Linked DNA regions of Homo sapiens: all the other regions are linked to region 3. The links are contacts of gene promoters, found by promoter capture Hi-C in blood cells and fetal thymus (Javierre and others, 2016). All regions are on one chromosome and are shown on one strand. Each heading gives the region's core, a stretch centred on a gene start or on the middle of the fragment in contact. The rest is flanking DNA. Distances are from core to core; before and after follow the strand shown.

Region 1 (3,087 bases), core at 440-2,939, 260 kb before region 3:
TTATTTATTTCTTAATACAAATCTATCCTCCTTTAATAGGCAATAAGCTCCTTGAATTCAGGGACAGTGTCCTATTCTTTGTATCTTTTGCATGTATAAAAGTGTCTGCCACATGGTCAACCAAAGAATTTATGGGCACTCATGAATGAATGAATGAATGAATGAGCAAATAAATATACAATGGGTATAATCCTCATTTCAAAGGTGAAGACAATATGATCCAAGAAATTAAGCAATCCATGGTTATAGAGCTAATAAATGGCAGCCCCAAAACACAGACTCTCCTGACATCATGTCTAGTACTTTTTCTACTAAAAAAGATGGCACCATACATTTTTTTCTCTAGGCCTAGGTCATGCCAGAAAATTTTAAATATAGGTGGGCAGGATCTGCAATTCTTCAGGCAGTTTTGATTAACACCCTGAAAGTTCAAATAGGCATGGACCAAGTCAGGTATCCCCTAAACTCTTCAAACTACAGAAAGAATTTCATAAGCCAAAGCCCATGCCAAGAGTCCATTAGTCAGCCACTTACAATAAAAATCCTAAGGAAATTATGAGCCAGAATACATCTGAACTACCATGGCAAGGACTTTGGGAATTTTCTTTTCTCTCTTTTAATATTTTTTATATGCACTTATTGCATCCTCTAGTCTACTCTGCTGTCTCTTTCTAACTTATGTATCACTCAACTCTCTTTCTATAATCACTCAGATTTCCATCCTTTTGCAATGAACCCCCTATAGAACACATGGACTCATGGGCCTATTACTTTACGATCTGTAACATTTTTGGAAGGGATTAAAAAATAGAAGTGGTCGGGCCCGGTAGCACTTTGCAAGGGCAAGGCGGGTGGATCACTTAAGGCCAGGAGTTCAAGCCCAGCCTGGGCAACGTGATGAAACCCTGTCTCTACCAAAAATACAAAAATTAGCCAGGCATGGATGGTGGTGGATGTCTACAGTCCCAGCTACTTGGGAGGCTGAGGCAGGAGGATCGCTTGAGCCCAGGAGGTAGAGGCTGCAGTGAACCGTGATCTGCAGTGAGCCTGAGCAACAGAGTGAGACTCTGTCTCAAAAAAAAAAAAAAAGGGCTGTTGAACAATTTTATAGAGTTAAACTATTCATTCACTCAAAAATATTTACTGATGGTAACATTCATTTATTTGCATGACTGGATTAAAAACTGTTTTTTGGTTTTGGAACTTGTATTAATAACAATAAAAATAAAGTTTAAAACAGAAAAAAACCCTAACTACCTGCTAAATGAAGAATACATGATCAATTGTGAAAAACTACTGAACAATTTTCAAAGGTGTCTCTTGGAATGCTCAATCACTAATACCCAGAAACTCCACAATTACAAACTTTGAAGGTTACATATGATAAAATTCTAGACTTAAGCTTCCTTCTCAAAATGAGTCCATCACAATATTTCATCGAAAACTCTAATCAGATCAGTATTTTAGAGAAGCAGACTTTACTTCATCACAGTAAACATTAAGCCCGGGAACCACATACCACAAAGCCTAGAGTACTCTGACAAATTAAAGAAAATCATCAGGCTGATGGAAGGCCTGCTCTGAGAGTATTTATGGCAGAGATCCACAGGGATGCTGGATGACTTTCTGAAGAATGCCACATCTCAATAAGAGGAGATAAAGGAAAAGAGGCAAAACTCCTATGCGGTTTGTGTATTGCTTACTGGTACAAATCAAAGAATCATGAAATAATTTTTGCAATACAGCTTCAAATAAATGCTTGACTAAAAAAGAAGTAAAACTGGAAGAACTCTACTCATGAAATAGTATCACTATCTTAAGGATAAGAATAGTCTGTGTACATCTGAAGCGTAACTGGTAGCACCAAAATGCACCCACCTAGAGCAAAAGAGCATTTCACCAGTGGATAATGTGACCACATGGGGTTGCTTTAGAACTTCACCCCACACCTAAATGTTGACAATCATTAAGCTTACAGCAGCTGCCTATGCTTTGGTCATTTATTAGTGACATTACCATGAAATACTTAATGTCCTCATCTCTGCAGCTAAGCATTTATGAATAAACCTACTCAGGCTGTCATGTAGTGGAATGTCTGCACTGCTTACAAGGATCTCCTTTATTTAACAACTCTCTCCTCAGCAGAGGGTGGACACGGTGATGGGGGTGAGGAGGGGGAGAAGACAGACACCGACAAAGAGAGAAAAAAACAGAGACAGAGCAGACCAAATAATTCTGTTCCTTTTCTTGTAACTGGACATGAAAGCTTGAGGTAAAAAAAGAAAAAAAAATCAGCCTGCAGGAGGAGGAGGAATGACAAAGTCGGCTGTACAGTTTCAATGCCTTCCATAGGCCACACTGCACACCGTGCTTCTGCCTTTGGGCTCTGGGGGACCCCATAGTCTGAGAAATATTTCCCTGTTTATATTTAAGCTATCTAAGGATGGTTTCTGTTTTACACATGTGTGCACAGACACACATACTGTAAATAATATACTGGAGAAAGATAAGGGACTCTGCTGAATTTTATTTAGGATGAAAATAGATGAATAATTACGGTTTTTTAAATCTCCACGTGGTTCATTCCATTAAGTCCAATGTCTAAGAATTCCATTTTAGAATATTTAGTGTTGCCACACTCTTGACTAGGGTTTCAGGACAGACCTCAAAGGGTGTATTATTCATCCTTATGCTCTCTGGGAACTGTGTAAACTACTACCAGCTGACTGGCAGTACCCAGTTGGTCTAAGTAAATAGGCTTACTATGTGTGCAAATAACGGAGAGAGGGAAAGACAGGTTTTTCTGCTCAATTATCTTTTTCTTAAAAACTATAATTGCACACATTAGAGTCAACTAATTCTACAAGGTTTGTAACAGAAAACAGCAGCTTCCTGCCGTACTTCCTCAATCTTTCACCTCAGAGGCAATCACTCTAAATTCTTTTAGTTGCTTCTTCTAATGTTTTACTCTATATTTCTAAAGAATATGCTCATGGAGCTCATTTATTTTGTCATTTTCAGATATTATCTTTTGACTTCCTACTACGAAAAATGAGAAAAAGCAGTATCTACATTTAAAAAATACAA
Region 2 (3,134 bases), core at 277-2,776, 290 kb before region 3:
CAGGTTGGCGTGGGCGGGGACCCACGGGGAAAACGCGTCGGGTAGGAAAGGAGACTGGGTTCGCGCCCCAGCTCTGCCCACCGGATTCCTGAGTGACAGACGCCCGCCGTCCCTCGGCCACCCGTGTCAAATGCGACAGCCAAACTCAGTGCTCAGAGCGCCTTCCCGCCATATCCCCGGGTCACTCCATCTTCCTCTGTCCAAGACAAAGGCCCCGGAGAGCGCAGATGCCCTCGGGGCAGGTGCTGTGGCTTCCCCGAGCTGGCACCGAGGTCACTTGGGCGCGTGGTACCTGCACCCCGGAGCCCCTGCCCCGTGGGGCACCAAAGGGAGAGGGAGCCCCAGCCAGTGGCCTGCAACCCGGAGCGGGCCAGGCGCGGGGGAGAACGCCTGTTCTGGCCCCCAGTGAAGCTTCCCCCTGCCCAGGCTCTCGTCTCGCTCAGCACCTGGGTCGTCTGCCCCAGGGCCGCAGCCCCCTGCGCAGCACGAGACACCCCGCAGTAGCCCCGGGAACCCTCAGCTTCGCCCCCATCCCCCACCTCCATTCCAGCCCCTCGTGACCCAAGGAAGTTCACGGCCCCCTCCTTCCGGCTTGGTCCAGGCTTGGAGGACTCCAGCTCCCAGGCTCAGGCGGCCCTCCCACCTCTCCCGGAGAATGGGGTGACAGGGGAAGACCAGGAGAGGGGGCGACAGGAAGGGCGATGCCGGGTGAAGCATGGGCGAGGGTCGGAAGCCAGGACATTAGGGGGCAGGGGGACTTGGTGGGGCGCTGGGGAGCTCTCTGGGTCTCGGAAGTCCCTTTTGCGAGCTGAGCGACCACTCTCAAAGCTCTCCGGCTCTCTCTGCCTCAGTCTCCCCATCTGGAAGTGAGGTCGTTGAACTCAGTGATCCCCGCGGTCTCTGCCCGACGGAGCGGGGTGGGTGGGGTCGGCTGGGGGTCGGCGCGGGGGCCCGCTCACCTGCCAGGGCGGCGCCGCAGGTGGTGATGAGCACCGCCGCCAGCACCCCTGGCGAGGGCGCGCCGTTCTTGAGCACCAGGACGCCGATGAGCATGGTGACCAGGGGCAGGCAGCGCTTGAAGACCACGTACATGGGCAGGCTGAGGCCGCGCAGGGACCAGAGCGTGAGGCTGGACTGCAGCGTGGAGAGCACCGCGACCCCCGCGAAGGAGCGCGCCAGGCTCAGACCGAAGGGGGGCACGGCGATGAGCCCGAGGCGCCGCAGCAGCTCCAGGCTCAGCGCCGCGGTGGAGCTGGTCAGGCACTGCACCAGGGTCAGGAAGGAGAACTGGTAGCGGCTGATGAGGAACTTGAGCAAGATGTTGAGGGAGCCCGAGAAGACCCCGTGCGCGATGGCCACCGAGATGCCCAGCACGCGGCCCCGGCACAGCTGCCGCATCGCGCCGGCCTCGCCGCACCCAGCGGTGGCGGAGCTCCGCGACCTGCGCGCGAGGAGCCGGGAGCAGCGGAGTGAGGGCGGCGGGGGCGCCCGCCCAGCGCGGCGGCGAAGGGCAGGGGGCGCCGGCTCGGCTGCAGAGGGCAGCTCCGGCCAGGCGTTCTTGCGGTTAGGCAGCTCTGCGTCCGACTGCCCCGCAGCTCCGGGGAGGCAGTGACGAGGGCGGGGGACTCCGAAAAGTGGCAGAGGTGGCGGGGGGGCCGGTCTGAGAGGAGTGGCGGGAATCCTAGCGACAGCTATTTGTAAGTGGGTGATGAGCCGCGGTGGGTTGTGTCCCGCGCGGTTTCACCGTCAGGGAAGACGCTCTGCGGAGGGAAGCGGGCGGCTGGGCGCCCCGGGGCGGCTGCCGCAGGGCGGGACGGGGGCTCTTGGGGCGCGGCGCCCCTCTCCCCCCACAGAGCCAGCGGCTCTCGCTTGCCCCTTCCTCCTGGCCGAGGGGCTTGGGTTGGAGGGATCGGGACACAGCTAAAGATTTTAGAAACAGCGCATCAGGATCGAGCGCCGTTTATTGGTCGCAACAAGTGACGGCGCCCCCAGCCCCCTCGCCCCGGCGCTGCAGCGGCTTTTTCCACCCACTGTCCCTCCCGGTGCAGCGGCGGGACCTCGTCCAGCTGCCCGCCAGGGAAGCGAAAACCGTCGGTGCCGGCGGGCCCCCGAAGCTCCCGATCCCGGCGACGACGCCCGGGCATCGGAGGAGGAACCCGCGGCCCGGGGCGCTGTCCAGGGGGTGCCTCGGAGCCCGGAAGCTGGCTCCTTCCGGTGCCAGGCCACGCGCACCGCTCTCCGCACGCCTTCCAGAGAGGGTCCCGGGATTATGCGCGCGGCTCCGGGGAAGCTTTCAGGGGGTTCAGTGGTCTCGCCCAGCAGCGGGGCCTGGTGGCGGGGACACATTCGAACTGAGGCAAAGATGAAAATAAGCAAACGCGCAGAAACGAAGTCACTAACACGAGTAGCCACCACCAGGAACCGAGGAGCTCGGGGGCGACGCTTCCCGAAGCGTGGGAGGGGAGGCTGGCTGCGCTCGCAGAATGGGAGAGTAGAGGGGGAGGGGGCGGGAACCCGGGGCCCCTCACCCTGCAGGGAGACTCCGCGTGGCGTTCTCCGGATCCCAGGGAACTGATCCCAGGGAACCCTCACCCTGCGGGACCGTCGTGGGTTGCTTTCGGAAGCAGGACAACCGGCAGGCGGAGGGCGGGGAGAGTCACCACCTCCCTGGGCCAGGGTTCACACCTTTGCACCACAGGACTTGTGAACTGTGTGTTTCCTATATGACTAAGAGAAAAAGGGAATTCTAATTTTGGAGAGGGAGTAAGGCTTCGGTAACTCTTTGTTCTGAATTCAGTTCCCTGGAAAGTAACTCGCGCGGACCTGTAGTTAAATCAGCAGCAGCCAAGGGTTTCGCTCAGCCGAGGTAACCGTTAAGCGCCAGACAGTTTGGTTTTCAGGCGATTTGAAATTTGTGGCCTTGGCCAGGGTTTGGCTATAAGGGAAAGGTTCGAGATCGCTGCGCTCCAGCACCCCTTTCGTTCACCACCAGCAGTTTATTTCTCTTAGCCCCGGGAATCGTAACCTCCTAACCTTTTAGCGCTGCATCACGTTGCCTTAATAGACAGGATCCATTTCTCTCGTGGTTCTTCTGTTTTCTGCCTCTTACTTCCACCTCTGTGCTGAACGCGACA
Region 3 (3,191 bases), core at 203-2,702:
AGGCATTGCTTATGTCCGCAAAAGAAATTTAGATAAGGTTTTTTTCTGCTGCTGCTGTTTTTCTGATGTTTTCAGCCTAAAATCATCTTCATCCACATCAGTGGGTCCAAATGGATCTCACTAATGCACTCACATATTTTTGGACAGCTATTGAATGGTAGGCACCATTCCATGTGCTGGAGAGATGGCAGAGAACAAAATGGAGAGAAATTCCTGCTATCACTGAGAGCTTACATGCTCTCATCTAAGTCTTAATCGGGCCCAACTCTGCTTAGCTTCCGAGATCAGAAGAGATTGGACGCATTCAGGGTGGTATAGCTGTAGACTCAGGTTACTTTCTAATGAGAGACGGACAATAAACACAAATAAGTAAAATACCATCTATAGTATGTTAGATGGTGATCAGGGTTAAGGAGAATAATAAACCAGGGAAGGGTTTAGGAAGTTACAGTGTAGCAGGGACGTGCAATTTTAGATAGGAAGGCCTGGGAAGCTCATTAAGAAGGTAAGATTTAGGCCGGGTGTGGTGGCTCATGCCTGTAATCCCAGCACTTTGGGAGGCAGAGGAGTTGGATTGTTTGAGGTCAGGAGTTTGAGACCAACCTGGCTAAAATGGCGAAACCCCATCTCTACTGAAAATACAAAAATTAGCCGGGCATGGTGGCAAGCGCCTGTAATCCCAGCTACTCGGGAGGCTAAAGCAGGAGAATCGCTTGAACCTAGGCACTCCAGCCTGGGCGACAGAGTGAGACTCTAAATAAATAAATAAATAAATAAATAAATAAATAAATAAATAAATGAAGGTGAGATATGGCCGGGCGCCATGGCTCACACCTGTAATCTCAGCACTTTGGGAGACCAAGGCGGGTGGATCATGAGGTCAGGAGATTGAGACCATCCTGGCTAACAAGGTGAAAGCCCATCTCTACTAAAAATACAAAAAATTAGCTGGGTGTGGTGGCGGGCACCTGTAGTCCCAGCTGCTCGGGAGGCTGAGGCAGGAGAATGGCGTGAACCTGGGAGGCGGAGCTTGCAGCGAGCTGAGATTGTGCCACTGCACTCCAGCCTGGGCGACAGAGCGTGACTCCTTCTCAAAAAAAAAGGTGAGATGTGAGTAAAGATCTAAGGGAGGAGAGATCCATCACACTAGATATTTGTACCTGCAGTGTTTTTGGCATTCTATTAATGTTATTAGTAGTTATTAATGTTTTGGCATTTACATATAAAGAAGGCCATACAGACTGAACATTAACAGAGCTGCCATTTGGGTCTTTGAGGTGATTACTCACCTAATGTGATTAAGCCCCCGCCGAAAGTGCATGGTTTTTTCTAAGGTGGTTGTTTCCTTCGAGAGTGCAAGGACTCAGTGAGTCACCACTTCGTTGTTTGGCCTTGTCAATGTTGCCTTCCTACACTGATTCTCTTCCCGCTACCAGTTTTGATTGTTCTGAGCAGACAGCAATAAAGAGATGATTCTAGAAAAATTCTCATGATTGCCTCAGAATGAAATTCTTGTTTCCCTTAGCAACAACCTGATTTGCTAACCTATTACCATAGAAATAGAATGCAAAATATATAAGCAATGTAATGTTACCTTTTATTTTTTAAAACCCTCTCTTCTACTATTCCTGGACATTACATAGATGATTCTCTGTCCTTCTAGGCTGAACCAGTCTCTTGTTTCTTTTCAGCTTTCTTTCAAAACTGCCATTTCAATTTCTATCTTTATCTCGTAAGAATAGAAAGGGGAGATAGAAAAACAAAGCAGCAATTACCCACAGAGATGGTTTTACTTAAATAACACTGCTCTTTTTACAATTCCTTTTCATTTTACTATCACCATTTTGTTTAACAGGAGTCAGCTTCTATATCTAATCTTCTATATCTAATACATAATCTTTTAAATCTGTATCTAATACGTAATCTTTTAAAAAATAGTCTTCTGATGCCTTAGATTCCTAGGGGAAATTAAAACTTTAGCAGCCTCATCAAGGTTTATGTATTCTTCACTCTTCTATATAAGCATACCTGTTGTAGAGCTGGACCTGGTGGTGTGCACCTGAGTCCCAGCTATTTGGGAGGATCACTTGAGCCCAGGACTTTGAGTCCAGCCTGGGTAACATAGCAGGACTCCATCTCTTTAAAAAAAAAAACTGCTGAGTATGATGGCTCCCACCTGTACTCCCAGTGGTTGGGAGGCCGAGGCAGCAGGATCAGTTGAGGCCAGGAGTTCAAGGCCAGCCTGGGCAACATAGCAAGACCCCATCTCTACAAAAAATAGAAAAAATTAGCTGGACATAGTGCTGTACACCTGAAGTCCCAGCTGTTGAGGAGGCTGAAGTGGGAGGATTGCTTGAACCTAGGAGTTCAAGGCTGCAATGAGCTATGATGGCACCACTGCACTCCGGCCTAGGCGACAGAGCAAAACACTCTTTAAAAAAAAAAAAAGATTTAAATATATCTATTGGAAAAATGCTTTCACCCAAGAATAAACCAATAATGACTCTAAATGTTTTGTTTTGGGATCTAGTTCTTTTCTAAAAAAGTTCTCATCACATTTTTCTATAACTTGATTAATTAGTTAAGCAAATAATTACTGAGCATCTACTACAAGCTACATGCTAAAACTGGGGATAGAGTAATTAAGGATGAAGTCCCAAGTCTCGAAGAGCTCAAGTGTCCAGACGAGGATGACAGAGGTAGCCGTAAGATCTTGAAGGGCATTGTCTTGGTCCATCCAGGCCGCTATAACAAAATGCCTTAGGCTGGGTAATTTATACCCAATAGAAATGCTTTGCTCACAGTTCCAGAGGCTGAGAAATCCAAGATCAAGGCACCAGCAGATTCAGTGTCTGGTGAGGGCCTACTTCCTCTAGATGGTACCTTCTGTGGGTGCTCACATGGCTGAAGGCTCAACCAGGCTCCTTCAAGCCTCTTTCATAAGGGGACTAATCCCATTCATGAGAGCTCTAGCCTCATGACCTAATCACCTTCTAAAGGGCCTAACTCTTAATACATTGTGATTCGGTTTCAACATACAGATTTTGAGGGCGCTGAAGAGGGGGGTACGCAAACATTCAGACCATAGCAGGCATTTATGCTGTGCTAAGGAGTTTGGATTTCATCCGGAAAGTAACAAGCTGCCAATAAAATAGATGCAGTGGCACTGACATGGAAAGTTCATGTGGAAC

Evidence for each region. The method cuts DNA at HindIII sites, captures the fragments that hold promoters and counts their contacts. A CHiCAGO score of 5 or more calls a contact.
Region 1: a fragment that was not itself captured here is called in contact with the fragment with the promoter of MAP3K5-AS1 in region 3 in 1 of 17 cell types (total B cells); the score reaches 5.4 in total B cells.
Region 2: a contact is called between the fragment with the promoter of SLC35D3 here and the fragment with the promoter of MAP3K5-AS1 in region 3, in 16 of 17 cell types (activated CD4 T cells, non-activated CD4 T cells, total B cells and 13 more). The highest score is 18.5, in activated CD4 T cells.

What each region holds. Positions count from the first base shown.
Region 1 is chr6:136,889,654-136,892,740 of GRCh38, reverse strand. The region is part of intron 8 of PEX7 (peroxisomal biogenesis factor 7); the gene reads right to left. Among named protein-coding and RNA genes, the nearest start is that of SLC35D3, 31 kb to the left of the region's middle. The HindIII fragment of the contact is 569 bases long and covers 1,405-1,973 here.
Region 2 is chr6:136,920,693-136,923,826 of GRCh38, reverse strand. SLC35D3 (solute carrier family 35 member D3) reads right to left here and starts at 1,526. Exons shown (of 2, transcript NM_001008783.3): 1 at 960-1,526. The coding sequence starts at 1,398. RefSeq lists an enhancer at 1,998-2,504. The HindIII fragment of the contact is 1,879 bases long and covers 414-2,292 here.
Region 3 is chr6:136,627,375-136,630,565 of GRCh38, reverse strand. MAP3K5-AS1 (MAP3K5 antisense RNA 1) reads right to left here and starts at 1,452. Exons shown (of 3, transcript NR_125858.1): 1 at 1,290-1,452. All of the region lies in intron 14 of MAP3K5 (mitogen-activated protein kinase kinase kinase 5), which reads left to right. It also overlaps the pseudogene RNA5SP219. The HindIII fragment of the contact is 14,560 bases long and covers 1-3,191 here.